2 separate regions of the Homo sapiens genome follow, and region 1 is linked to region 2. The links are contacts of gene promoters, found by promoter capture Hi-C in human tissues and cell types (Jung and others, 2019). All regions are on one chromosome and are shown on one strand. The core of a region is centred on a gene start or on the middle of the fragment in contact, and the rest is flanking DNA. Distances in the headings are between cores, read along the strand shown. Region 1 overlaps PLEKHA1 (pleckstrin homology domain containing A1). Region 2 holds the start of DMBT1 (deleted in malignant brain tumors 1).

Region 1 (2,759 bases), core at 39-2,538, 150 kb before region 2:
GGAGTACAGTGGTGCTATCCCAGCTCACTGCAGCCTCCGCCACCGGGGTTCAAGTGATTCTTGAGCCCTCAGCCTCCTAAGTAGCTGGGATTACAGGTGTGTGCCACCACAGCCAGCTAATTTTTGTACTTTTAGTAGAGACTGGGTTTCGCCATGTTGTCCAGGTTGGTTTTAAAACTCCTGGCCTCAAGTGATCCGCCCAGCTTGGCCTCCCAAAGTGCTGGGATTACAGGCGTGAGCCACCGCGCCTAGCCCAACATTATATTTTCATTCTTGGTGAATTGAATATCAACTTTCCCTTTAACTTTTGAGAAACCTGCAGCGTTTTTATGTATTTCACTCATAAATACTTAAATCTGTCTTGTTCATCTTTTTATTCTCTAGTTATTTTTACCTTTTCTTTTCCTACTATTAGAATTTCCTACTACTAGGATCACATGCAAATGCCTGCCAAGATTACATTCAGATCTCCTACAAAAAATGCTGGGACATAAAAAAGGATAGAAAGCCAAGGAAAGGGAGAGAGGCAGTAGACAAAGAAACCAAGTGGATTCAGTGTCTGACATGTGCCAACTGCCCAGTGAGATCACTTTTCTGATTTTCATTGGACAGTTGGATGGTTTGGGGCAGGGGTGTGTCCTGAAAATGTCTATCTTAATGGCTGAATTTAGACCAAGTTTTACAGAGGTACATATTGTTTTTAGAGGAGTTATCCATGTTCATGGGTATTTTGCTTGAACTTTTCTTGTTCTTAGGGAATAAGATGATTACAAGTTAGATAATTTTTATAGTAAAATGCAGTTCTAAGTTAACTACTAGCATTTGATTTTATTATAAAGACAAATTAGAAGCAGTGAGCTTAACAGCATAAGCAAGGACTTTTAATATACTGTAATTTAAGAAAAATGGAAAAACCAATATAAATTTCGGTATTTTTTAGAATGATTTTAAAGGTTTTTCCTAATAATTCCCAGGTCTGACTAAACTTCTTGAGAGAATAACTGCTAGTTTTCTTATGGGTCACCTCTTAGCAGCACCTCTCATTTTATCTAGTTGAATAGATTGTTTTCTCTCTGGTTTCAGGTTCTCTTAATGCTAGTTGCTGTTCTTCTCAATGAGATAACTGGGCCATATTTTCTCTGTCAGAATAATTGAAATATATGGTGCTATTCATTAGAAAATATAATGGGCTTCCCTAGCAAATCATTCCAGGGTATACTATCCTAATTTTATTTGACAAGGAAAATTCTCTTCATTATTTTATTGTCTTTAAAAAGCACTCCAAAGTGTGCAAGTTCTTAGAAGAATTCAAGAGGTATTCAGGATTCTCTTCTCTTTCCTGTTTTCTCTCTCTTTTGTTTCTGCGGATGAGGGCATTGTAGTATGAATACGAACCAGAGGCTGGAGGATTGGGCCTGGGGCCTGAGAGAAACCTCTTCAAGGGAGGCAGGTGGAGAAGGAAGGGAGAGGGAGTTTTAGAAGTCACTTAAGAGACAAGTCATTTATTATATCCATAAATTACATTTGTGTGGATTGGGACTTACTGTAGCTCAGCATCCTTTCATATACACATGGACCATGTTTGCTCAATATTTTGCAGAAAGCTGCTTTGCAAATCCTTATCTGCATTGTATACCCTCTTTTCTACAAATCTGGTGGGAGTAGCATCGTATGGAAGAAGAGCACAGGTTTTAGAGCAGTGTTTCTCAAAGTGTGGTTTATGAAACTCCTGCCTCAAAAATGTCTGGTGTTCTTGCTTAAAGTGCAGGTTTTTGGGCTGCACTATAGATATGTTGAGTCAGAATTTCTGGGTTCGAAGCAGGGGAATCTGAAGTTTTAAATAATGTTCCTGGGTGATACTTTATGCACTCTAAAGTTTGAGAAATCACACTGCTTTGGAATCACACTAATAAACGGTTTGAGCCTTTGAATACAATGTGAGTGGTGTCCTGTAGTTCTACCAGTACTCTATTAACAGGAATTAGCTATATGACAAGCAAACTATTTAAGTTAAATGTTTCTACACCACTACTTCAGTGATTGTCAGTAGTATTTGTCATAGTGTTTCTGAAAGACTGCAAGGTTCCACGTGCCCTTTAAATCATTGGAGAAGACTAAATCATGTTCAACATTATAATTGATGCTGAGCAGATTTTATTACATTTTATTCACAGCCTTAAAAATGTATAATTTAAATACAGACTATGTGCTAAACAGTCTACAGATAGAAATAATGATTAACTGAGTACCTTATTTACTGAATAGATCACATAAGAAAAGCAAAAATATATGTTAAAAATTTATGATACCTCTGATTCTTTCATCCACTTTAGTGAGGTGTTAATGTGAGATTCTGCTGTTACCACAGTCATTGTTTTCCTGTACTTGTGAACGATTTATCATTGATCCAAGTATTGGAATTCCTTCTTTAAATTTCTAATGAAAAGTTTTGTTTTGAAACTTCTGATTTGTTTTAAGAATTTTGCTATTCTTTTTTCTGCTGACTTTGGATTCATCCATTGAGTCTTTCAACATTTATTGAATACACTATGGTTTTGGTAATAGTCTCTGTCTTGAAGCCAGGAAAGACTGAATATGCCACAATCCCAGAATCATGGGTAGGAATGGAGAAAGGGAAGAAAACAGCAAAGAGCTGTAAGCCAATAGTAAGTGTGCCAATAAACAGGGTCTAGAGCACAGCAGTTGGGCTTGGAAGAGTTACACACACTTGGCTAGAATGTATTATAGTCAGGATCTGA
Region 2 (2,723 bases), core at 210-2,709:
ACAATTCTAATCTGTCATGACACTCTGATGATCCCAGACCCAGCTGCATTATCATTCTCAGTCCAACACTCCAGGAACCAAGGGATCACAATCCACTTCTAAGAGGAATCCAGCATGTGCCTGGTCTTGGGCATTCCCTGGTAGGTGAGTAAACCTGTTCTCTCGTCACCCAGTGCTTATCAGTTGCTGATCTGGCAGTAGGAGGATGAAACACAGTGAGCCTATTCTGTGTTCCTGTTCTACTCAAGGGGTGAAGAGGCACCTGGAAACAACAGGAAGAGTTGTAGGATTAAAAAGGACATCCAAGATTAAATGTAACTTTCATCTGGATGAAGCCAAAGGCAGACTTCCAGCCCTAAATTCTGACTGGTGGCTGACACAGGACATGGGTTCATGGTACCCTTCTAGAATGCAGCATAGACTACTGATGAACAGTGCATGGCAAAGAAGCCAAGTGTCATTTCATGGCCTCAGCCTCTCAGCTGAGAAGCAGGGCACAGCTCACCCAGGCTAGGAAAACAGAGGCAAGTCCTGGAAAGCTGTCTGCTTTTAACCAAGAGTTACTGGCCATCAAGTGTCTTGGTTAAAAAATAAGTGTCAGGCAACCTTCTTGGTAGAGTGTGTTGGGGGGCATTATCAGAGTCTGGTAATGACTTCTGAGGGTCCCAAAGAGTGAAGTGATATTTACATAGCAAATCCAAGGAGGGGGATTGTGTGCAATATAGGTGGAGGTGGGGGCAGGTTTTGTGGGTTTGCCAAGCTCCAAGGGTCATACAATGTGCATGTCAAGGACAAGAAATCAAAGCCATGTGAAATGGTTGGAGGTGGTTCAGTTTGAGGTCATGTGTTTCTCAGCTCCTGTTGTGGAATTAGTGTGAGACCCAGAAGACTGTGGCCAAAGCTATTATGGACCCATGGTCTCCGTGGAATCATCCCTCATGACTTCTGCTCTCTGATCACATCCACACTCATGTCATCCTCGTTCTTCCAAGGTGAGGTTACTAGTACTGCACAGGGGCTGATGAGAGCATGTCCTGCCAGGAAAAACCATCCCAGAGATGCTTTCCCCCTTGGCACTGTGTCCTGTATTTGCTCAGCAGCCCACATCCTGTTCTTCCCCAAACCTTGGGGCAGACTTCCCACAGGTGAATTTGAACTCCCCAAGATTAAAATCAAGCCCGTATTCAGGAAACACTTGGGAGTCCTTGAGGTTCACCGAGAGGGAAGTTGGAAATTTTTCACTTATGTCAGTGCGTTTGCAGTTGGGCAACAGCCAGATTGTTCATATGGCAATCAATCAAACACACCTAAGTTTTTTCCACATATTAGCCATCGACTGTTAGCAAAAGCCCTCACTTCCTTTATATTGATTTATAGCAGCAGTAGAAATATACCACCCTAGAGGACACACCTCCTTTTAGCTAGGTACCTATAAATGTCCAGGATTTTCTATTCAATTGAGAAGAACCCAGCAAAATGGGGATCTCCACAGTCATCCTTGAAATGTGTCTTTTATGGGGACAAGTTCTATCTACAGGTATTACGTTTAATTATTATATTCATTAATTTCTCTCCTGCAGACCCAATCATGGCAAATTATATCTACTACTTTCCATTACAAGGGAAGTTTTATATCAAAGAGTGGGTAGCACTTTGCTGATAATTGTAATTGTTTGCAGGTATTCAGGAGGAATGGCTCTTTTTTGTTTTATTTCTGGCTGAGAAATATAAATGGTTGTAGTTAGAAAAAGCCAGTCATTAAGTCAATGTTTTCAGTAAGTCATTCAACTAAAGGAATGATTGATTTGTCTTAGAAAAATCCCTGAAGTTTAGGAAAGGTGGATGTGTATTATTAAGAGGCCCTTAAACTTTGCAACAATTGGTTAAACACACAATTTGTGTGCTATGAAAACGGGCAGAAAGGATTCCCACTGCAAATGCCCTTTATGTGGCTTCTTTCTACAGGTGTGTCTGGCTTGATGGCTAATATTTGCCGAGCAAAATCAGGTCAAGTAATTGAGCGCAGACAAGATCATTAAGATTCCAAGTTTGTCTTGGAATTCCAAGTTTCTCTGTCATGCACAGCTTTAAACAAACACTTGAAGCCCAGTCACTCAAGCATAGCTGTATGTTCTTAGAGAGTCAGATGATAAACGTGAGAGAGCCGTCGGTAGCGCACTCTGATTGCTGCATCTCAATGGCATTTTGCAGAGATACTAGAGGAACAAGTGATTCTCAGTTTGCCTATTTTGTCTCTCTCTTCCTGTCTCTCTGCCTCTCTCTCTCTCTCTTTCTCTCTTATCTATTGTGTAGTTATTATCATCTTTTCTCTCCCCTCTCTCTCCCTCTGTTTCTGTCTGTCTGTCTGTGTTTCTCTCTCTCTCTGTATCTTTCTCTTTTTCCCATCTTTTGGGCAGATATCACCTTTTCTTCCTCCTCCTCCCTCTGTTTCTGCCTCTGCCTTTCTCTCCCTGCCCCCCTCACTGTATCTTCCTGTCTTTCTCATCTATCAGGCAGTTATTACCTTTCCTCCCTCCCTCCTCCTCCTTCTCTGTTTCTCTCTCCATCTCTCTTTCTCTTTATTGGGCAGCTATTATCACCTTTCTCTCTGTCTCTGTCTCTCTTTCTCTTCAACTATTGGGCAACTATTATCACCTTTCCTCTCTCTCTCTATCTGTTTCTCTTCATCTGTCAGGCAGCTATTATCACCTTCCCTCCCCCTC

Evidence for each region. The method cuts DNA at HindIII sites, captures the fragments that hold promoters and counts their contacts. A contact is called where the count stands out against the background at its distance.
Region 1: a contact is called between a fragment that was not itself captured here and the fragment with the promoter of DMBT1 in region 2, in 1 of the 25 tissues and cell types used here (bladder).

The regions. Positions count from the first base shown.
Region 1 is chr10:122,409,829-122,412,587 of GRCh38, forward strand. All of the region lies in intron 5 of PLEKHA1 (pleckstrin homology domain containing A1), which reads left to right. Among named protein-coding and RNA genes, the nearest start is that of MIR3941, 5.8 kb to the right of the region's middle. The HindIII fragment of the contact is 5,773 bases long and covers 1-2,759 here.
Region 2 is chr10:122,559,295-122,562,017 of GRCh38, forward strand. It overlaps DMBT1 (deleted in malignant brain tumors 1), which reads left to right and starts at 1,460. Exons shown (of 56, transcript NM_001377530.1): 1 at 1,460-1,537. The coding sequence starts at 1,477. The HindIII fragment of the contact is 14,664 bases long and covers 1-2,723 here.